7 separate regions of the Homo sapiens genome follow, and regions 1, 2, 3, 4, 5 and 7 are each linked to region 6. The links are contacts of gene promoters, found by promoter capture Hi-C in blood cells and fetal thymus (Javierre and others, 2016). All regions are on one chromosome and are shown on one strand. The core of a region is centred on a gene start or on the middle of the fragment in contact, and the rest is flanking DNA. Distances in the headings are between cores, read along the strand shown.

Evidence for each region. Contacts are between HindIII fragments. The CHiCAGO score rates a contact against its expected background, and 5 or more counts as called.
Region 1: a fragment that was not itself captured here is called in contact with the fragment with the promoter of FASTKD3 in region 6 in 1 of 17 cell types (non-activated CD4 T cells); the score reaches 7.5 in non-activated CD4 T cells.
Region 2: a fragment that was not itself captured here is called in contact with the fragment with the promoter of FASTKD3 in region 6 in 13 of 17 cell types (total CD4 T cells, naive CD4 T cells, naive CD8 T cells and 10 more); the score reaches 18.0 in total CD4 T cells.
Region 3: a contact is called between a fragment that was not itself captured here and the fragment with the promoter of FASTKD3 in region 6, in 8 of 17 cell types (naive CD8 T cells, activated CD4 T cells, total CD4 T cells and 5 more). The highest score is 11.9, in naive CD8 T cells.
Region 4: the fragment with the promoter of MED10 here is called in contact with the fragment with the promoter of FASTKD3 in region 6 in 9 of 17 cell types (activated CD4 T cells, naive CD8 T cells, naive CD4 T cells and 6 more); the score reaches 20.0 in activated CD4 T cells.
Region 5: a fragment that was not itself captured here is called in contact with the fragment with the promoter of FASTKD3 in region 6 in 5 of 17 cell types (total CD4 T cells, activated CD4 T cells, non-activated CD4 T cells and 2 more); the score reaches 10.8 in total CD4 T cells.
Region 7: a contact is called between a fragment that was not itself captured here and the fragment with the promoter of FASTKD3 in region 6, in 3 of 17 cell types (erythroblasts, endothelial precursors and M0 macrophages). The highest score is 8.7, in erythroblasts.

Annotation. Positions count from the first base shown.
Region 1 is chr5:9,539,105-9,542,425 of GRCh38, forward strand. The region is part of intron 1 of SEMA5A (semaphorin 5A); the gene reads right to left. Among named protein-coding and RNA genes, the nearest start is that of SEMA5A, 5.3 kb to the right of the region's middle. The HindIII fragment of the contact is 4,663 bases long and covers 1-3,321 here.
Region 2 is chr5:6,636,438-6,639,697 of GRCh38, forward strand. The region is part of intron 1 of SRD5A1 (steroid 5 alpha-reductase 1); the gene reads left to right. Among named protein-coding and RNA genes, the nearest start is that of SRD5A1, 4.6 kb to the left of the region's middle. The HindIII fragment of the contact is 4,539 bases long and covers 1-3,260 here.
Region 3 is chr5:6,612,117-6,615,510 of GRCh38, forward strand. The region is part of intron 9 of NSUN2 (NOP2/Sun RNA methyltransferase 2); the gene reads right to left. Among named protein-coding and RNA genes, the nearest start is that of NSUN2, 19 kb to the right of the region's middle. The HindIII fragment of the contact is 1,376 bases long and covers 1,457-2,832 here.
Region 4 is chr5:6,377,240-6,380,366 of GRCh38, forward strand. It overlaps MED10 (mediator complex subunit 10), which reads right to left and starts at 1,308. Exons shown (of 4, transcript NM_032286.3): 1 at 1,123-1,308; 2 at 1-10. The coding sequence starts at 1,244. RefSeq lists enhancers at 1,043-1,252, 1,543-1,762. The HindIII fragment of the contact is 6,030 bases long and covers 1-3,127 here.
Region 5 is chr5:6,358,599-6,361,726 of GRCh38, forward strand. No RefSeq gene overlaps it. Among named protein-coding and RNA genes, the nearest start is that of MED10, 18 kb to the right of the region's middle. The HindIII fragment of the contact is 1,821 bases long and covers 799-2,619 here.
Region 6 is chr5:7,867,201-7,870,280 of GRCh38, forward strand. It overlaps FASTKD3 (FAST kinase domains 3), which reads right to left and starts at 1,831. Exons shown (of 7, transcript NM_024091.4): 1 at 1,779-1,831; 2 at 1-996. The coding sequence starts at 883. It overlaps MTRR (5-methyltetrahydrofolate-homocysteine methyltransferase reductase), which reads left to right and starts at 1,948. Exons shown (of 15, transcript NM_002454.3): 1 at 1,948-2,015. RefSeq lists silencers at 1,841-2,280, 2,291-2,340, 2,401-2,450. The HindIII fragment of the contact is 2,367 bases long and covers 401-2,767 here.
Region 7 is chr5:9,205,491-9,208,848 of GRCh38, forward strand. The region is part of intron 8 of SEMA5A (semaphorin 5A); the gene reads right to left. Among named protein-coding and RNA genes, the nearest start is that of MIR4636, 150 kb to the left of the region's middle. The HindIII fragment of the contact is 571 bases long and covers 1,646-2,216 here.

The DNA.
Region 1 (3,321 bases), core at 800-3,299, 1.7 Mb after region 6:
TGCAGTCATGTCCAGTTCCCACTGCTAGCCCGAGGCAACCACTCACCTGCCTGCCATCTTTATGGGTTTGCCTTTTCTGGGCATCTCTATAAATGGAAATACATGGTGTGTGGTCTTCAGTGACTGGCTTCCTTCACTTGGCACAAGGTTTTGAGGTTCATACATATTGCAGCATATATCAAGAGTTCATTTGTTTTATTGCTGAATAGTAGCCCATTGTAGGGATAGGCCACATTTTGTTTACCTATTCTTCTGTTTCAACTTATTAAATCTATAAATCCAACTACATGACTAGGCTTATTAGTCTGATCTTGGAAATATAAGAAAAAGCCTGCCATATTTTTAAAATATTCTAGGATGTCTAAAATCTCTGTAATGTGTAAACATATGTAATAAAGACACAATATGTTCCCTGGAATTTGTGTGCTTGGAGGAGAGGGTGCTGTTTTAAATGAGAACATCCCTGAATTTCAATTTTTCTGTGTTTTAATACAGATTAAGTATCCCTTACCCAAAATGCTTGGGACCAGAAGTATTTCAGATTTGGGATTTTCTCAGATTTTGGAATATTTGTATTATATATATTAGCATTTTTAGGGTCATGTCGGTGCTCAGAAAGTTTCAGATTTTGAAGCATTGTGGAATTGGGATTTTTTGATTAGGAATATTCAATCTGTACACAGAAATTATATTTATGCTAATCTCCAAGTCATGCAAGGTCGTCAATTCATTTAACAAGCACTGACTTACTGTGCAAATTGTTGTGTATTAGGAACTAGGAAATATGCAGTCCCTCTCCCAACCCTCCACCTGCCAGTTTACAAAGACATTTGTATTTTAAGACTGTGCTAAAAAATCAGTTTGGAGGCATTTGGAACATTTTTCTCTAAATAAAGAATATAAGTAGTTTTAGAGTCCATGGTTAGCCCCCAAAAGTCTTGCTTAAGCCTTAGTCCTTTCTCTCAGTATACTCTATTGCAGTCTATACTATATACATAGTCTCTAAGGGCATTTTTTGATTCGGTCACTTACCCAAGATGGCCCGAGAGCCTCCTGCGTGCCAGGCACTGTTCTAGGCAGCGTGGGCAACACAGCTGCGAACAAAACAGTCTCATTGGTCTCCTAAGCTGACATTCTGTATCAGTGAAAGACTTTAAGAAATAAAGGCAGTGCGTGGAGTTCTGCAAAATGATATGGAGAGAAGGCCGGGCGCGGTGGCTCACGCCTGTAATCCCAGCACTTTGGGAGGCCGAGGCGGGTGGATCACGAGGTCAGGAGATCGAGACCATCCAGGCTAACATGGTGAAACCCCGTCTCTACTAAAAATTCAAAAAAAAAAAAAAATTAGCTGGGCATGTGGCGGACACCTGTAGTCCCAGCTGCTCAGGAGGATGAGGCATAAGAATTGCTTAAACCTAGGAGGCAGAGGTTGCAGTGAGCCAAGATCGCGCCACTGCACCCCAGCCAGGGTGACAGAGCAAGACTCTGTCTCAAAAATAAGAAAAAAAGAAAAGAAAATCAGTAGTTTTACAACAAACCTAAATCTCAGTCCTGTAAAAGGAGTCACGGAAGCCAGTTGTGATTCTAAAATCCATTTGTTTACAGGATGCCCAACCATAAATGTCCCTGGCCTCCGAAGCGTTCTCTTTCCACAGCAGGTTTGGGGGCACTGGCAGGAGTCAGCTGCCTTGGTAGCTGGCTCAGAACAGCTTTGGGGGCCCTCTGCAAGACGTGTCACATCTCCGGTTTTGTTTTGTTTTGTTTTTACAGAAAGAAAAGCTCTTTGTGTGGAATTTTATTTGAAGTCACTTTGTGAGGAATGCCATCTCTGCTGTGATTCAGGAGAATAGAAGTTTCGGTTTTATGATTTTGCAGACAGATCACAGGAAACTGCTTAGCAAATTTTTTCTTAGTTGCTTTCCTTGACTCTGTTTTTCTTTCCATGAGTACATCATACATCCTTGCCAAACATTGGGTGGATTTGAACTGATTGAAAGAGGCTCGATTTTCTGTGAACGATTTGTCCTTGTGTTATCCTGATTGTCACTCGCCTATAACTTACTTAATTTCACGTCTCAACAAATATAGTATTATTTCACCCACAGAGTTGGCTTCTGATAGAATCACTCTACTGGTTATTTATCATACATATCTGTAATTGAATTACCTATTGCAGTAGTGTAATTTACTCTCAATTGTACATAAAAATGTAACATAAAATAACATTTTTCCAGTGTATACTTCCTCATTATTCTACATGAACCCTAGTTTAGCCAATTCTACAGAAATACAGTGACAAATAATGAGTGAAAGATGGGAAGATAAAAGATTAGTGGGCTCATGACCTTTCAATAATAAAAGAATTTCATCCTCTAAAAAAATTATTCTCTTTTAAAATAGTTTTTTTTCCCCAAGTGTTAATCAGGAAACCAATTCTAGGAAACCAATAAGGAAAAAAAGAGTTTAAAAACAGAATGATTTTCTTTTTTCCAAATGCAGCAATACTATGTCACTACATTTTAAAATGTAGGAAAGGGAAATAAAGTGTGCTTGTCTTTGCTCTTGTCAAACAACCATTAATCTTGGACCAAAAAAGAAGAAAGAAGATGACAACAGCAATTCCTTTGGGAAATTTTTCTGTTTTCTTGATCCACTGTTGTGTCACTCCTACTTTAAATTTCATGCACAAGGTGAAATATGACTTGTCTTTGAAGTTGCCTGGCTTCAAAATACTCTGTGAAATGGACAGCCTGGTTTCCTTAGCTATACAACCTTTTAGATGGCAAAGACTGTCAATACTAGTATGTTGAAATAAATTACCTATTATCCAATACCTTCTCTTGGGTCAAGTTTTCATTTGTTTTGTTCTATTTTGCTTCAATTTTGAATCGAAGCAAGTTTTGAGCAGGTTCATTTATATTGAAAAGTTTATGTATATTCTAGCTTACTTTAATTTTGCTTTTTCTTCTTTTCTCCCTATCAGAAATTGATTTTGTATATCTGGATAACCAATTCTTAAAAAATTCATCTGAAAAATATGCTATATATTTACCAAGCGTACCCATATCTGTTTCTCCAAAGTGCTTCCCAGCAGCCACATCTCACCTGCTGAATTTATCCCCAAGTTGCTCCCAATCTATACAGGAATTGGAAACAGGAGATTGCCCCCTATCATTTCTGCAGGGTAGCAGAGTGATAAAAACCTAATTTTCAACCAAACTTCTGCATCTCAATTTTAAAAGGTTGCTGAGAACATATGTGAAATTATCTATGTTGTCAACTGTACTCAAGACAACTGAAAGTACTTATAGACGCTCATTT
Region 2 (3,260 bases), core at 381-2,880, 1.2 Mb before region 6:
CAGTACCACCTTACACAACCTGACAGGTGTGCACACAGGCCCTGTGCTGACCTGTGAGGTTTCGCTGGAGTGAGGTTGGGCCCTGCCTTGGGGAACTAGAGCCTCTTTTGGGAGTGGCAAGGACCAGAGCCAGGTCCAGGGACTTTCCACAGTCCATGAGGCCTGAAGGCAGCAGCAGAGCTACAGCTCTTCCCAGAGCAACTGACTGTTCTGGGAACAATGAGTACAGGACAGTCAGGTCAAGGAGGGAGGAAAGGTGAAGGAAGGGATAGAGGGAATGGTGCGCTTTCATGTATTTATTCAGCAAACACTTAAGGAAGACTTACGTGCCAGTGAGGATTTCTGGACCTGGCGTTGTGCTGGGGATATAGTGACAAGACATTCCCTTTGAGTTGAGGAGTAAAAGACAGGTTATGGAGAATCTATGGGGTCTTTTGGACACAAACACCAGGGAGGGAAGGACAGGCTGCCTGGAAGGGGACAGGGCTGGGGTGGGGGGATAGCCATGACGCAGGACGAGCTGTGGTCCTGACCAGTTCCCCCAGGAGGGCAAAGGACATTTTCAGGAACATCTTTAGGGCTCACGGTAGCGACAAGGATTGCCTGCCTCCTATCTGTGCTGAAGCCTCCTTCTGATCCCAGGGCGCTTGGGTTCTTGGGTGCAGGGGCGGCAGCGTCTCACTGGGGCCCTAGTCATGTAGAGCATGGAGTGGCGTCTGGCATGGTGGCAGCCCCTGGAGGCAGGTGCCTTCCCCAGCCTCCTGGCAGGCCTCCCTAGGGCCTTCCGAAGCCTGTGCCTACTCCTATCACCTTTGCCCTCTGCTCTGTGATTACAGTGACGCCCCGCTGCATTTACCCTGTTCCCTGGCCCTCTATTTTGTCTCCCTGGGCTGGTGCTGTAACCCAGGTCCTCATCATCTGTGTTGGTTCTTGCTGGGCTTCTTCACTCTTCCCCACTGGTCTTTCTCTACCCTCGTTTGTAAATCCTGCTTTGCTAGACACAGCAAAAGTCTCCCGGAGTCAAGGGCATTAGCTCTGAACTGTGTCGGAGTCGCTGGGGGGCTTTGCAGACTGTGCCTGACCTCATGCTCTTTCTCTCCACCCACGCAGCTTTGTTCAGTATTCCCTGAACCCAGGCTGCTTTGCTCATGGATTTTCCTTCCCCACTATCAGCAGTGAATTAGTCAGGGGATTGTCTCTGCATTGCACATTCATTTAACAAATAACTCCGAGGAGCCTGAGCAGGAGGTGCCGCTTGCCACGGGAGTCCTCAGTGACTGCCTTTGTTAGGACTGGTGGCCAAATGGTGCCCAGAGTGCACAGTCAGATGCCCAGAGGCCTCCTCTTTCTGACACCTGTCCCAGGTTTGTACTCAGCCAGGTCCATGACCTTGTGGGACTTTGCTTCTGTCTTTATCTCTGACGATGGTGCCTCAAAACATTGCACCTACTTTGATTCCTTGTATCTCTCGTGTAATCCTATTAATGGGCTCCTGTGGGGAGCCTAGCCCAGCTTCACTTTTAAATGTGCGGTGGGTAATGTTAAAACACAGCAGGGAACTTTGAGGGTGAAGTGTGTTAAAAGATAAACTCAGGTGCATTAAAATTGTAGTTTTTTTAGGCTGGGCGCAGTGGCTCATGCCTGTAATCCCAGCACGCTGGGAGGCCGAGGAAGGTGGATCACACGAGGTCAGGAGATCAAGACCGTCCTGACCAACATGCTGAAACCCTGTCTCTACTAAAAATACAAAATTTAGCTGGGTGTGGTGGCGCATGCCTGTAATCCCAGCTACTTGGGAGGCTGAGGCAGGAGAATCGCTTGAACCCAGAGGTGGAGGTGCAGTCCAGCCTGGGCAACAAGCACTAAACTCCATCTTAAAAAGAAGTCATAGCGTTTTTTGGAGCAGACCAATTCATGAATCAGCACCAAACCACAAGCAGTATGAGCTCCACCTAGAAGGTGTGTGGGAAAGCCATTTTGTAAGACGTGTTTGCACAAGCAAGACAAAGGAAGCATTTGATTGGTCAGAGTGGAAAGTTCCGGAGGTTAGTGGGTGGTTTCTCCTTGGAACAATCTCTCATTAGAAGTCAATTGGCAGTTTCTGATTGCTTTAAGTTTCCTTCCACTGTTGGGTTTCCATGTGCTTATGTAAGACACAAGACACCATCTCAGCCTGATGGCCTTCTAATTAATTTGTTTTAATAAGGGCATACTGAATCCTTGGCCCTTGCCTCATAGATTGGAATAATCTGAGAAAAGAAAAACTTCTATTCAAAAGTGTAGGATGATGAAAAGTGAAATAATGATAGCCAAGCACTTATTTTAAGCATGCTTTGTTGGCAGCTGTGCAATTTGGCCATCATTTCAAAAGTCTTTTACAGAAGGAAAGGCTAGGTGAAAGGAACAGACCCAAATCTAGGAAGTGCCATAGATTTCAATGGTCTCACGTTGTTAGGGGAAAAAAGCAATAAAGTCGATCATTAAAATTAACCACTCTCAGTTTTAAACATTTAAAAATTATTAAATCCACCATGACCTAAATTACTCCCATATAACCAAATTCTCTATTTCATTGTTCCCAAACTTGGGGGTACAACATTATAGGTTGTCCTGAAAGATGACGTCCAGACGCTTTGAGAGTCAAATCATTTGCTGAATAAATGCCTTGTTGTTATAAGTAAACCAAGGGATTATTATTCCAGTTTGTTGGGAAAATATTTCAAGACATACTTCTTTAGTTCCCTGTGTGAATTAAACAGGCATAGAACTTGCTTGCAAGACGACAAAACCCAAACATCTTACTTTAAACGCTTTAAAGAATAGTCATTCCAAGTAGTTGCTTGCATTTTCATCCTCTGGAATGCATACTGTGCTATATTTTGAGTCTTTCCCCTTTGGAGCAGGTCCCATCGAGCATATGAGTATGAACAGTTATTTACCAGTTACTTGGGTTTATACTGTATGGGTAATTCTGCCCGTTTGAATAGCTGGAGAAATCACTCAAGTGCTGCTTAGGAGCAGACGTTTGAGAAGCTCAGAGTTCTCAGTGCCCTTGTGTGGGTGCCACCCCACAGCCCTCGCGGACAGTAAGAATGGACATGGAGGCAGCCCCGATGATTTTGTTCTTTTCAATAATCCATTTTTCTTCCTGGGTGCTTATAGGGCACTTTCTTTTTCCTTAGATGGATAATCTGTGTTTGCTTGTTTATTAATTTCGCCTGATTTTCTCCAAGCCTTTTTAGGAAATTGAATTTAGCCCA
Region 3 (3,394 bases), core at 895-3,394, 1.3 Mb before region 6:
AAAATGAGCAAACATTAACAATATGTAAACGACAGCTCAATAAAGTTGTTCCAATGACAGGGCATTGAGGAGTCCTGCCACAGACGCGAGACTAACTCCGCAAGAAGACAACCAGAAGGCTGGGCTGCAGGACGCCTGCTCCGTCTCCCCATTCCAATGCACACCAGGGCGATGCTGCAGGTCTTCACGCAGGCATGTCTAACAAACATCCCAGAGCAATGCTGAAAATGAACTATGGGAATTTTTAAACCTCAAGTTCGTGGTCCCAGGAAGTTTCCTAAAATTGCCCATCGGGACACAGTCAGCCCAGTTTTAAAAACAATGCGATAAGAGCTGTGAAAACACACTGGCCTTAAGTGTCCATACCAGTGACACAATAAGAAGCTATAAGGTGAGGCCATTACAGGAAACCAGTGAGACCAGCTACTAGCACAGATACTGATGTGACAGCCTCTCAGCAGAGGAAAATTCAACAAATCTCCCAGAAAACATGAAAATGGGACAATTACAAAAACAAAGGAAAAGAATCTCCAAGGTGGAGGAATGGCAGTAAGAAACCTTTGAAGCAAGCATCGTACTGACTTCTGCCATCATTTCTGAATCCTCTTCCTTTTAAAAGCTAACAGTAAATGACAGTGCAGGCAAACATGCGGGCTTCTCCATCAAACACTGTCCAGGGGCTTCACAGATGAGCAGGGCAGGCAGCAGGTGTTATCTCCACACCCCAGCACCTGGGTTGGAAGCTGCCAATGCTACCCCATGTTGCCCCTTCTCCAGTAAAGTTGTTGAGCACTTTCAGGTGGGGAACGCACACCCCCTCCAGTCAAAATCACCAGCAACCACCCACTCTAAGGCTCAGCCAAGGTCTGCTCCTTCCTGCATAAAGCCATATCCATGCACACCGCCTCTGACAGAGAAAAGGGAGGAAGCATCTACAATACGGTCTGAAGCCACCCACATGCAAAAAGTTGGCTGTGACATCATACTGTACACAGGTCCATGCTGGAAACCCACCTGTCCAGTAAGAAAATGACTACAGAATAGGAGACTCACTGAATGAAGTAATTCATTTTTGACACTTGCTAACAGGAAAAACTACTATGACATATTGGAATGTTAGGTGAAAAAGCAGGGTATTTAAGATATACACAACACAATCAAAACTATTCAACACAGTGAAGACTAGAGGAAAAGTTGCAAAAAGCAATGCAGTTACTTGAAGGAAAAGAATCCATGTACTTTTTTTCTAAATATGAATGCCCTTATACTTAAAACCCACTGGCCAAACGGTGCTGGCTGTTCTTTGAAATCTCCTATGTGGAGGCAGAAGCCAGCCCCTGACCAAGAACTCCCTCCACCCCCAAGGTATCTCCCCTGGCATCTCAGAAAGCTAAAATGATTCCAAAATTTGAATAAAGAACCTGAGCATACTGTCTCCTTTCTTGTCTTGCAGTGAAGCTTGCCCTTAGAACAAAGCTCAACTGCATGCCATAGTCTAACACCTTCTGTGACCTGTGACAATGAGGAGATAAGCCTCATTTTAAAGGTAAGTATCTGAAAGCATATCATCTGCTCTATTGGTAATAAAGGTGCGATTTTGGCCTTGGTCTGCCTTGCTCCATTACCTTGTCAATTGGTTCAGAAGCTGGACAGGGAAAGAGGGTGTTATTTACTGGGCTTTCAAAAGAAAGCCTGCCAGGCCAGGCATGGTGGCTCACACCTGTAATCCCAGCACTTTGGGAGGCCGAGGTGGGAAGACTGCCTGAAGTCAGGAGTTTGAGACCAGCCTGGCCAACATGGTGAAACCCCGTCTCTACTAAAAATACAAAAATTGGCTGGGCGTGGTGGCACATGCCTGTAGTCCCAGCTACTCGGGAGGCTGAGGCAGGAGAATCACTTAACCCGGGAGATGGAGGTTGCAGTGAGCCGAGATGGCGCCACTGCACTCCAGCCTGGGCAACAGAGCGAGACTGTCTCGGAAAAAAAAAAAAAAAAAAAAAAAAAAACCCACAACACACACATATAGACAGACATAAAGCCAACTAGAGCCACAAATTTGGTGAAGTCTGAAAAGATCTGCAAGCGTTCACTCAGAAAACCAGCAGTAACATTCTAAATACAAGAAAAAGAACCAGCCAGCCAGTCTGAAAATCAGAAAGACCAATGAAAATCCACAATCAAGAAAGGTTTCAGACCGGATGAAGACGAACCCATCAGTACCCCAGGACAATCCCACATCTGCTCATCCCTCCTCACAATCCTGATCACCAGCATTCCCGTTTTCTTTTTCACCCTGCAGCTCTTCCTCACTCCCCCGTGCCTGGGTCACGCTTGCTCATTCTTAACTTTCGAACATGGTGCACTGTGTGTGAGGTTCTGTCCACTCTTCCCTTAGAGATCAGTGGGTTTTCAGGAGAATGATGGTTCCCCACTGCTGCTGGAAAGAGAGACCCATGGGAATGAGAACTAGAACTTGGATTCAACCTGCTTTCAGATGACAACCCCTCACGAAGCCACTCCTTCAAACGTTGGCACGTTCAGGAAATGGGTGAGGGTGGCAGAAGCATCCAGAGCTCCAGGCAAGTAACCCGGTCTGACAGCACAGCCAGCCCACAGAGCACACAGCATGTTCTCTGAGCGGGGACAATTTTGCGGTAATGAGACAGGCAAACAGCAAGTATCTCCAATGTGAGGAAAGAAAGCCCGGTGGACTCAGGCCAGCAAGTCCTGCCTGCAAAGAGTGACTCCAGCCACGAGTGAGGACAGGCTTGTGTGGACAAGAGCCTCTCTCACCTAAGAACTCAGGAGACCTGGCTTTTGGTCCCAGCCAAAAGCTTACAAGAGAAAAAGGAGCAAAATTAAACACCTAGAGTACTTAACTAGCCAACACAGACTTAGGAGAGTAGCAAATGCTTAAAGAATCTACAAACATTTGAAGCTAAGCAGCACAAGATGGGGCTGTGACCACTCACCCCAAGTCAAGAAAGCTGCTCACCGAGAAACCGGGGGAAGCTGTCTTTACAAAAGACAAAGAGCACCAGCCAAGAATGCAGTGAGTGCGCCCAGGAACTGGGGCCCACCCTCAAGTCTGAGTCGTAAATGGCAACTAGGCATGCAAATTAATAAATGCAGTCCATTTTCTTTCTCAGGGATCTGAAAGCAGACTGTGGCAAGGGAAACAGGAGGTGTCTGTGCTGCTCAAGCTGCCTGGAATCATGGTTTCCTAAATTCCTAGCTAATGAACACAAAAATCTGAGCAGGATTCAACAGTCCTAACAACTGACCCCAAATCACACTTGAAGGTGTAATTTCATTACAACTAAACTATTATGTGCCCCATACTCCCCCTCACACACCTTTTGGAATAAAGTATCACCAACACCATGGCAATTAT
Region 4 (3,127 bases), core at 58-2,557, 1.5 Mb before region 6:
AATAAAATTCCTGGGGGAAAGGCAAACACACAGGCATCTGGTTAATTTCGCTTGACAGCATAAGCACCACCCACAGAGCTACCCAGCCAACCGGGGCTCCACGCAAGTTCGTTCTCCTCACAGCTATGCGGGTTACACACGGTTCTGACCTCTTTGGTTAGCTACAGGATTCCTAGGACACCGTTAGAGTTACAAAATACCCTTAAATATTTGTTACTTTCCTTCTCAACTAGAAATTGCCAGTAAGGGGGATGGAGAGGGAACCTGATGAAAAATATGAACCTTCTCTCAAAAACAATTACCTGACTGTGCATATGACTGTGTGTGCGGTTTCAGCGAACACATGAGGCAGCGGACTATACTCAAAGTCTGAGGGAAAGAAAGCCATACTGTCTGGTTTAGCTTCCTCTCCTCTCTGGAGCCTTCCTACAGCATCAGGCTGGTCTGGCTATTCCCACAGCACTAGGTATGGAACCTCGAGTGCAACATTTTCTATGTCCGTGCCACATATAAAGCCCTTCTCGAAAGTGCTGTACTTGCATTTGCCTTTTCTCCAACCCAGGGCCTAGCAACATGGGCAGCACAAGGCTGTTGCCAAGAAATAATAATAATAAACGTTCTGCAACCTTTCTCAGCACCACCTCCCCGCTATTTCCTCCACTGTCAGGCCTATGCGGCAGGTGGCTTCGGAGCCTCACCTTCTGAGGCCTAGTTTAGGGCGTGCACTCACTGTGGAGCCTGCCTCCCCTCTGGAGACAGGGACTGAATTCCCAGAAGGGCTCCAGGAGGAAAAGGCTGGGAGGGGGTTACACATGAGAGGGGAGACGCTAGAAGAGAAAGCATGATTCCCTTGATAGGGAAACGTAAAGTATATCATCTGGCCATGACGACGTCTCCAAAGGGGCCTCAAAGAGGTTGGCTCTTGGCAACAGGCTGGAGCGCGGGCCCCGCCCTCTGAACACAGCCAGGAAAGGCGCCCCGGGCTCCGGGACCAGACCAGAGGGCTGGCGGGGCACGAGTAGCGGTCAGGCTCGGCTCGGGCTCCCTAGATCCCCGCTCCCCTAGCACACGCTTCCCGGCCAGGCCCTGGGGAGACCCCGGCAGCCTCGGGCCGCCACTCACAGCTTTTGGTTGAGCCCGGCCTGGCTGCTGGGCTGGAAGTCACTGACGATGATGCCGAGCTGCCGAATGTTCTCCACGAACTTCTCCAGGTGCTCCTCTAGGTGGTCAAACTTCTCCGCCATCGCCTCGGCCCGTCCCCGACCCACACAGCCTCAACCAGCAGCGCCGCAGGCGTGGCCCTACGCTCCCGCTTCCTGCTTCCGTCCGGACAGATACGACTTCCGTTTCCTCTGGGGGAGCGCGGGCGAGCTCTTGGGGGCGGAGCCTCGTTATCGGGACGGGCGTGTTGGGGCGGGGCCTAAGTGCGGGGCAGGGCGGGCTTTCGGGGATGCGGTCTGGATTCTGGAGGAGGCCTCGGCGCGCAGCTGGGCGAGTACTAACTGTTTGCACTCTCATCAGACCTGCCTCGGTCATGGGAGAAGTTGAAGACTTTCTGCAATGCAGCATCTTCAAGCAATACACACATGGATGAAAATCCTAAAGTTTGCATGAAGGACCAATAACGGTAGTTTCCCTGCCCCTCTACCAGAACCCCTGGGATCAGCGCCTGCCTGCCTCCTTTCTTCTATGTAATCGGCGGCCACCTCCCCTAGCTCTTGCTGCTAACCATGCTTCCCGGACACCTGCTGCCTTCGTAGGTCAGGGTCTCACCTCCTCGGGCCAATTCTGACCAAACAGCACCCTGTGGGGTTGCCCTGTCTTAGTAAACTGCTGTTTATCTCATTGAAATTCAGTTTAGGTCATTTCACTCTTATGTTTAAGAAACTTTTCTGCCCGATCTCCTATGATAGCGGATATCTCCTCTAGCCTGTTTGAATTTCTCAAGTGATTTATTTTACTGAATATATTTGTGGCCTGTACTTTTCAGTGCCTAGAAACAGGCAAAGTGAGGGAGCTCCTTTGCTAGATGATCTTCAGAGCCTCTCCCAGCTGTGACCAGAAATGGAAAGCCAGAGAAGGTAAGTGACTTGCCAAACTTATGGAATCAGGGCACTCCAGTTGGTGGGCTGGGCTGATAAACAGAAATGTTACATAAAATACTTCTCTCCTGATTTAACAACAATTAACTTTAGGGAATTATAAAACAAGATGGAGGCTGGGCGTGGTGGCTCAGGCCTGTAATCCCAGAACTTTGGAAGGCCAAGGCAGGTGGATTACCTGAGGTGAGGAGTTCGAGACCGACCTGACCAATATGGAGAAACCCTGTCTCTACTAAAAATACAAAAATTAGTCAGACATGGTGGTGTGCGCCTGTAGTCCCAGCTACTTGGGAGGCTGAGACAGGAGAATTGCTTGAACCCAGGAGGCAGAGGTTGCAGTAAGCCGAGATCATGCCACTGCACTCCAGCCTGGGCAACAGAGCAAGACTCAAAAAAAAAAAAAAAAGGTGGAAATAAAATATTAGACAAATAAAAAATTTTAAGTTATTAGGTAGAGGTAGCGACATGGAGTGAACGGCCTTTCTCAATTTCATAAGTAAGAAAGATAGATAATTGATGGAACTTAGGCTTTGGTAAGTATTTATTTTAAAAATTTAAGGGTATCTCTTTGCTAGTATATATAATTCCCAAACTAGTAGACAGGGGGAAGGGAATAAAGAAAACACAATCAACTCAATAGAAGGCAAGAAAAGAAGAGAATAAAGAAGCAAAGAACAAGCATGGAAAATAAAACTCACAACGTAAAGTGCAAAAATTAAAGGCACACGACTCAACAGCAAAAAAGCAAAAGAAGAAATTTATAAATGGGCAAAGGACCTGAACAGATACTTCTCAAAAGAAGACATAAAAATGACCAGCAAAAATGCTCAGCATCACATATCATCAGGGAAATACAAATTAAAAGCATAATGAGATGTCACCTTACACTGTTAGAAGGGCTATAATCAAAAAGACCAAAGACAATGGGTGTGGGTGAAAATGTGGAGGAAAGGGAACCCTTGTACACTGTTGATGGGAATGTAAATTAGTGCAGCCTTTATGGAAAATAGAATGGAAGTTTCCCA
Region 5 (3,128 bases), core at 459-2,958, 1.5 Mb before region 6:
CCTGAGCTCCCTGCAGCCATGGCTCCAAGCTCCGCACCGCACAGGTGATCCCACCCATCCTGGGCCCCAGTTTGGAGAAACTGTCACAACCATTGAGGAGAATTAGGAGAGACACAATAAGCATGCCTATGAGTGTGGCATACATAAAAAGTCTAGAAGGACACTCAATAAACTCAATAAACAGCCTTAGTGGTCGATCTCTGCAGAGGGGGCCAGAGAGCTGGGAGCTCAGAAACATGATGAACCAAAGCAGACACTTCCCCGTGCCATTTCTGGGAGGGCTGATTGGTGACACTTTTTTGGGTCACAGTTTGGTAATAATTAGCAACATTTAAGTACACATAATTCCATCTTAAGAAATTAATCCCAAGGGACTCCACAGATGCCAGTCCAGGACAATGAACAATGGCATACCCCATGGCACTGCTGGCATCCTAGAGTCTAAGCACATTGCGGCTCCTCCATGCCATGGGCACCACCGACGGGCCTGCCAGCCTGCCCCTGCTGACAAAGATTTGCAAAGGTATTTCAAACGAAAAAAGCAAAACCCTGAAGGGTGTGTATAATGCGATCCTCTATGTATTTTTCTAAGCACAAACCTGAATATTACGCGTAGAGGGCATCTGGTCTGCCTGGGAGGATGTCCATGGTTAAAAACACTGAGGCTGGGTCTGGAAGCTCTGCACCATTCACATTTTTCACCATGAAAAACAAGTGTGCGAAACAGCAGTGTTAAGTACGCTATCTGCTTTTGCTCGCTGCACAAAAATAACATTTGTACAAACAAAAGACTATTTAAGCTTAACAAGAGCAGCAATAAAAAACAGGTCCAAATCGATCCTGTGTATGCCCAGTTTCTGTAATGGAGGGCTCTGTGCTGAGTAAGCTCTCTGGTTTCACACTGTGCACAGTTAATAAATGGTTATTAATAATAGCAATGATAATGGCCTCCACGTGCTACTGAAATGCAATTAGTTTCACAGTGGAGCATGCTACACATCTGAGGATGAACATTCAATTTTCACTCACATCCCAAACTTTTAAGTGGTCAGACCAACAGTTTGCATAAAAGGCCCTCCTGTGTGTTGCACTGTGTCTTAATTTCATAACTCGACCGCACCCCGGGCCCCAGCTGCTGCTTTTGATTAAATCAGTGGACGACTGTATTAACATCCCTTTGGGACTCTGACACTCCAGGCTGCATGTGGCTGCAAATTAATAAATGCTGGGGCACAAAGAGACTGCCCAGAGGGCACCTTAAAATACGTGCCTCTTCCCCTAACATATCTTGGGAGAAAAAGAAGCGTCCCTGGAGGGTTGATGGGGTGGACACGCAGAGTGAGCACGGGAGCGCAGGCAGGGAAGGGACCATCTCTTCCTCATCAGCAGCCCCTCTGCAGGCAGGTGGCTGAGAAAGGCACAGGAAAAGGGCTCAGGGCGTTTTCAAGAGGAAGGCTGGGCAGGAAGGAGAGGGGAGAGAGCTGGAAGGAGGAGGCAGGATGTGGCAGGCCCTGGGGCCGTCTTTGCATCGAGCCACCTCCCCCAACCTTGAGAAGAGGAACAGGAGGTTAGGAACAGATGATGGCCCATGAAAAGGTGAAAATAAACTAGCTGTGATGCGTTAAAGAGGGTGACGCCTACGAGTCCTGCAGCCACTGCAGGCAGAGGAGGCCCTGCTTCCCTGACCCATCTGCCTGCGGCTGCAGGTGGCACCTCACAGTGGCTGTGCCTCCCAGGACTCCAGCTTGAGACTCGGGAATCCTCCCACCTGGAGAATCGGGAAGACTCCTGCTTGCTTTTCCAGTCGGATTATTTACCTCGGTCCCGCCAGCATCTATGCCCTGACTTGAGACTACTCTAGGCAGAGGCGAAGGTGAGGCCAGCCAGGGAGGCAGCAGCCGTGGATGTGGGCAGGGCCATGGACGGACAAAGCAGCTCCTCTGCAGCTCCCGGACGCAACCTCTGGTGAGCACTGTCACCAACCATGCCATTCCTCAGCACTCCCAGAGGGAGCCTGCAGACAGCCCCGCGTGGATGGCTGCTGCTTCTTATTCCAAACTCTGTCTAGACTGAGGCGCAGTGCTGGGCCTTGCGCTCATCAGATAAACTAAACTTGAAAACTCACAATGACGCATCCGGGGTTTAAATTTACTTACATGAAATTCAATTTTTAGCCTTAAGTCACTCCTACAAAGTAAGTTTCTACAGGAAAGGGCCAACATGAGCACCCAGTGAATGGAAATCCAGGCCATCCTCATCCTGAAGGTGCCAGAGCAGGCCCCGCCGGCTGCCTGAGAGCTCCCATTCCTTGTCAGTCCCCTCTGCCCCTGCCTGCCTCAGTTCTCTGCCCCTGCCTGCCTCTGTTCTCTGCCCCTGCCTGCCTCAGTTCTCTGCCCCTGCCTGCCTCTGTTCTCTGCCCCTGCCTGCCTCAGTTCTCTGCCCCTGCCTGCCTCTGTTCTCTGCCCCTGCCTGCCTCTGTTCTAAGGACTGTAAGAGCTAAACCTAAGATCACTCGACTCCCTCGTAATCGGGGGCGGGGGGCCATGCGACAGTGTTCTTGTCCATGAGATGTGAGCAGAAGTCCATGAGAAAGACAGCCCTTCCAGAATAAAATGGCAAAGCTTCCACAGGAGAAATCTTTTTGCCCGTCGGCCTTTGCCCTCCCTCTATGTTATTCCTGCCTGGAATGCAAACGTGATGCCTGGAGGTGCAGCAGCCATCTTGTAATGTGAGGACAGAACCCATGCTGAGGATGGCAGAGCAGACAGGTGAGCCTGGGTCCTGGCTGATGCCTGTGAGGAGCTACTGCTGTCTGGGCAGACAGCTTAGCATTGCTGTTGCAGGAGAAAAATTAATTTCTATCTTTGCATCTCATTCTTAGCTGAACCTTTCCTAATTTGCAGCAAACCTACATGAAACAGTAAAGGACAATCACAGTTAAAATAAATACAACACATATGTGTAAATATACGTTTATAATTATTTTTGGTGCATATTTAAATTAAGGGAGAGAAGTTACGTAAAATTATTTTCAAAATTTTAAGGTATGATGGACATTATTATCCTGTATAAGATGGCTCACTCCTAAAAAAACCTGGAAAACTTCAACGATAGTGGAAAAACAGAGA
Region 6 (3,080 bases), core at 581-3,080:
ATTTAGGACTCAGGTTGGAAACTATTGATAGGGAAAAGTTGTTTATCTTATTTAAAAATGTTTGGTGTTCATCCACTTTTTCAGTACATGCCTGCAAGATTCTATAAAGGGCCACAATATCCTCCGGGGTAAATGTTTCCAATTTTTCACCTTGAAGTTGATTTATAATGAGTTCTAGTGTCACACAACCTGAACTGTGCAGTGTAATCAGACTTTCCCCAAGAATACAAAGATTGCGAACTTCCATGCCACCTTTTCTGAGACGATTTTGGCATTCTGCCACCAGGTTCAGCAACAGGCTACTTTGAGGATCCACATGCAACAGAATCAGAGCTTGCAAAGCAGTCACTAAACTAGTGTTTGACAGCTGTGAGGGCTCCTTTTCAAACTGAAAGCATAAAGCTTGAAAGATGCTATTCTCCAGTATTTCTTTTGGCAGCCCTTGATCACCATCCTTTTTTTCCACTTCACAAATTCGTTGTAAAGCTCCTGCTGCCATAGTGTCAGGCAGGGTTTCCATCGTGCTTATAAAACTTAGCACTTCTTCTGATGAAGTCAAGTTGCTCAGTCTCCTGTAAAACATCTGACTCTCCTCATTTTTAACATTTTGTTCAAGCCTGTCGCAGTCAGATACTTGAGAGAACACTGGTCCACCGAGTGGATGAAGGTCATTTCCATTTTTCGAATGAAACTTTTTACAATGGGCATGATGGAATTTGACCCCGAAAGGCTCAGGTTGTCGTGAACACAACCAAGGGCACAGACGCTCCTTGACTACCTTGTGAACATGATTTAGAGGTTTATTTTTTAAAGCAGCCAGAGCTCTATGCATCTGAAAATCAGATAAACGATAAAGGTTCTTCCTCAAGGTGATTAATGCCATACCATCAGATTCTCAATTTGATAACTAAATTAAAAAATTTAAAAACACATGGTTAAATACATTGAGAACATGATTGACCCAACATCAATGTTTATGAAACTACAAACGAGTATCTGGAAAAAAAAAAAAAAAAAAAAAAAGGATGGTTAACATATAAACACCAGAGGGGCAAAGTCTCTGCATCCTAGAGTTAGAAGAGTGGCTGACATTGAACAATAACAATCGCTATTACTTGCTAAACACTGTTGTAGGTATTCTATTAACTTACACAGATTCAGTACTTTTACTATCATTTTACACGAGGAAGAAGTTGAAGCACAAAGTTACTTTGCCCAGTTTATGCAGGTGGTTAAGTGGCAGAGCTAGGGTTCAAACTCAGGCAATGTAGCTCTTAAGGGTGGCCCTTAAATGTTGGTTGAAGGAAGAAATTGCATTTGGATAGAAATCAAAGAACAGGTAAAGTGGGCAAAATTAGGCGAGGTTAGAGCAAGGCAAGGGTAAAAACGCGCTGGAAAGGCCCTAAGCTGTTGGTTTCCCCTCGGTGTCGGGAGAAGGTTAGTGTTGAAGGAAAGGGTCTACTTTGTCAATGGAAACAAGGTAGGAAAAGAAAAAGCAAAACATAGATCAATGAAGGGAGAAGGTGGGGCGGCCAGTCCAGATCTAAAGACGGTGCGGGGGGATTTGGCAACACGTGTGTGCAAGACAGACAGACGGGAGGCCCCGCGGCGCGTTTTCCTAGGAATGAAAGGGACCCGCGGGGCGAGCACCCCCAAACTCGGCGCCCCGGGGACCTGCGCTGAGACACGGGCCGGGCGGCGCAGCCTGAGGAGAAAGCCGGCCAGGTCTTTGACACCCAGCCGGACCAACTGCGCGGAGACCCCGCGTTGACACCTACCGCGCTCTGCCGGGCAATCACTCCGGGTGGTCGCGGAAGCGCCTGGGCGTCGTGGGCCTCCGTAGCAAACGCGGGGCGGGAGCACGACTCAGGGCGGCGCAATGTGATTGGCCCAGGTCCCCTTCGGAGCTTTCTATTGGTCCTGGGTACCGAGCATGGGCGCTGCGTCAGTGCGCGCTGGCGCAAGGTTGGTGGAAGTCGCGTTGTGCAGGTTCGTGCCCGGCTGGCGCGGCGTGGGTAAGCTGCCTGTCGGCTACGGTTCCCGGATTCCGGCCGCTCGCCCTGCACTAATCTCCTGGGAGAGGCGGCCCGGGGCGGGGGTGGGCAGCCGGCTTGCGCCCGTGGTTCCCACGCCCTTCGGCCTCCGGGGGTCGCCGCGGGCGCGGGCTGGGGCTCGGACTTGGCCTTTGGCCTTTGGCTTTGGTGTCCCCGGGAGCGTGTCCTTGGGCTCGGCGTCGGCCTCTGCCGCGGGAGGCCCCTGGGCGGCGTGGGGTCTCTCCTCATGTTCTGCCTTTGGTTCTAGGCGCTTTCCAGGCCTAGGGAAACCGCACTCGGGGACGCGGGGAACTGGGGAACATGCCGGGTTGGGGCGGCGCGCTCCGGGGAACCCGGGACGTTCCGAGCGCCCACCCGGCGGGACGCGGCCGTGAGTTCTGCCCGCGGCCGTGAGCTCTGCCCACCGCCTCCGCGCCGCTTCCGGGGCTGCTGGGGCCCGGGCCTCCGCTGAGAGTCGTGGGAAGGTGGTGCCGGATTGTGGGGCAGTAGCAGGGATGAGGGGTTGATTGATCCTGGGAAGCCCTCAGGATGTGTGTTTCATGGGAAGTGATAGAAATTTTAGCTGTAGTAAGGTTTTCATTATCGTTTCCACCGTTTTCTGTGAGCTGTCAATGTGTAGTGTTTTCATATTGTTTATTCACTCATTCAGATAACTTATCGAGTACCAGTTTCATGCCAGGTGCCGTTCTGGGCGGTTCATTCACCGAAAGCCAAGCTTTTGGTTTGGGTTTCAGTTTAAATCTGTCTCTGCAAATTGACAGCCCACCAATTTTAGCCGTTAGATGAGTATGGAAAAAAATCTGTGAGTGTCGTTTGTTTTACTACTGCTTATCTCTTGCGGAAAAACGTGTTAGTAAAATGTTTAAGTGGATTGGAAATATTTTTTCGTTATATGCACCCGTTTGTATATATGCCCATACACTCACATATTTTTGATTTGCATTAAATAATGAAGGAGAGTATGTGCTTCAGTTACCTTTAGTACTATGATTAGTTTGTTTAGCGTTAGGATCAAATAAGAACCAA
Region 7 (3,358 bases), core at 681-3,180, 1.3 Mb after region 6:
TCCAGCAAACCACATCCACTTTTGCAGACAAGGAGAAGACTGAGCAATGGCAGGTAGACTGACCCACAGTTTCCTCTTTCCACAGAGAGCCTCTACCATATCTCCAAACCACCCTGAACCAATGTTATAAGATCACAACGTCCATTTTAGATAGAAATGCTCAAATACATGTTTTCCTTTTGGTTTGCAAAAACAACAAAATAATTTGTATTCAGTGTGTAGTGAGTGCTGTTCTCTAATTCACCACACAGTGCAGGTCATGTTGGTCAGGGAGTGAGACTGCATTTGGAAACACATCATGCGGCCCTACACTGATCCTTCAGGATGAGGGTGGACCCCTGACTGTGTGACCTGCCATTAACTCGGGAAACACAGTTTCTTGAAAAGTAGAGCCTCTTGAAATTCGGCTAGCATCCTGTTCCTTTTTCAAAGACAATGAAAAAGTGGGAATAATTGTAAGACAGACAGTCAAATAGCTCTTATATTTATTGATATAAATTTGGAAGTAGGGGATGTTAGAGTCTTGCCAGGCAGGATGATAAGATGAATTTTGTTTTCCTTCCATTATTTAAGTTCTGTCTTTTCTCAAAATGCAATCCACCACAAACTAGTATCTGTCACTCCTGAGTGAATTGAACAAGTCAGAAGGAAAATCAGGTATTTTCTTCTTGTCTACAATGGATAGGAGTGCATGAAAGAGAGATCTGAGGTATGTTGCTAACTAAATCACAGTAAAAACAGGCACGTCAGCTGCTGTGTAAACATATGCATGGAGAAACTGTTTTTTCTAATGTTTGTAAAACATACTGAGTTATGTATTACCGTGTTGTACAAAATATATCATGTTAATAAGAATTCTTCTTCATGATATAAGAACTTTTATTTTGCATATTTACTTACATAATAGTGACCATACAGATAGGACTACCGAGAAGTGACTCACCATATATGTAATTACAAGTGATGCGAAGAAAAACATCAAAAATTTTGAGATTTCGACCACGCAAAACCAAATACTGAGAATCCAAAAGAAGCCTCCCATTCTATATTCTTTCTATTCCAATGCCTAAAGCATCAATATGGGGGTACACCATATTCAAATGGCTCGATCTGATCATTGAGCAGATCTTTAATAGGTTCTTGATATAAAAATATTTGTACACAATGGGAATGAATATTAAAGGCACAAAGGAATCCCAACTCTACAAAAATCTTACTAGAATCAAAGTCAATTATAAATTATTTTGCAGTCAAAAGTCGCCTTGTGAGACACTTGCCAAAGTCAGGCTGGAAAATGCCTGTACACGATGCCTGTGACTCTGCCCTGGTTGGACCATTGACATCTGATATTTTCTGTTGTTGCATCTGACAATCAGACCTAGTTTGCAAAGCTGTGAAAATTAAATGGGCTGATACATAGCAGGATGCCAATAAATGGTGGCTATTATTATTTTGGCATCGTGTACAGGCATTTTCCAGCCTGACTTTGGCAAGTGTCGCACAAGGTGGCTTTTGACTGCAAAATAGTAGCCACCATTTATTTACTCTCAATGTCCCTTGGAATAATTTCTGTTGAACAGAACTTCACATAATGATAATGAATGATCAAGTGTATATATATATATATATATATATATATATATAAAGCTTAAAGGTCATTAGAATTTTAGGAGCATAAATAAGTCATACTGAGTTTTGTTTGTTTGTGTTTTGAGACAGAGTTTCTCTCTTGTTGCCCAGGCTGGAGTGCAATGGTGCGATCTCAGCTCACTGCAACCTCCGCCTCCCAGGTTCAAGAGATTCTCCTGCCTCAGCCTTCCAAGTAGCTGGGATTCCAGGTGTGCACCACCACACCCGGCTAATTTTGTATTTTTAATAGAGATGGGGTTTCTCCATGTTGGTTAGACTGGTCTTGAACTCCCAACCTCAGGTGATCCGCCCACTTCAGCCTCCCAAAGTGCTGGGATTATAGGCATGAGCCACTGCCCCTGGTCTACCATGCTGAGTTTTTAAATAGCAAGCTATTTCACAAAAATAAGATGAGTTAACGGAAACAATATTCAGATGTGACACACAGCCAGCAGTTTTCTGTTCCTAAATTGTTGGTATCAGTCAGTACAAAATGCCTTCCATAAGCATTCCCTGATTTTAGACCCTCTCTGTATTGGGTACATTGTTTCCATTGTCACAGTTTATGTAGATAAAACTGCTGTAGAAGCTTCCAGGGCAAATCTATTTTTATCTAGATATTCATTAAAATTAAAAGCGGATAACTTAAAATTAAATTAAATTAAACATAGGTTAAAAGCTACTGGTAGGCTAAAGTTCTTTTCCTGAGGTTTCTACTAAAAGACAGATGATGATAGATAGATAGATAGATAGATAGATAGATAGATAGATAGATAGATACATAGATAGATAGATAATAGATAGATTTTAATAGATGGATGCGCACATTTGTGTCTGTGTATATGTGTGTATCACATACATGAGTATAGAGATATATGTATACATGGCTCAATACTTCCACCTACTGGCTGTGTGAATTTACTCACATTATTTACCAGTATATTTTCTCTGTTTCCTGTTTTTGAATAACAACAACATCCAACATACAGTATCATTGTGAGAATCAAACGCACTTTGCTGGTAATCATCAAAATACAGACCTCTATTTATTAAAAATAACTCCAAAAATTAATATAAACACAGATGTGAGTAAATAGTATCAGTAATTAATAAGATAACTCATTGAGTATGCATTCCGTATATCAAATTAAGATCTACACTTATTCCATCAAGCCTGAAACCAAACACAGTGGCAGGGACCATGCTACAGACGAGCCTGGAGCCGGCCAGAGTACTGCTCTAGGCATTTCCTCACTGCCTCAAGGGGCTGTCCTGGGCACTGGGTGCTCCTTAGTAAACTGATAGACACAGCCCGTGCCCTCAAGAGCAGTGTGAGGAGACAAACAAGACAGATCAACAAGTGCTTACAGTGAGGACAAGGGTATGGAGGGCCAGGGCAGCTGGGAGAAACAGAGGATCAGAAAGGAGAGAATAGGGAAAGGGCAGAGGTGAGGCTGAGAAGGGGCCACCCAGACAAGGATGGGGGAAGAGAACATCCCTGCCAGAAGGAGCAGCCTGGGAGAAGACCATAAGGCTGGCAAGGAATGGAATGAAGCCACAGTCAGGATCAAAGAGATCAACAGGACGGGAGGTGGAAAGCCAGGCAAAGCCAGGAGCCCATAACAAGGAGTATGGATTTCAACTGCCATTGGAGAGACACCAAAGAGTTTTAAAGAAAAACTTATCACTCCGTTTCCTGGGTGTGTGGTGTGGGATGGGGTAGGAAGTT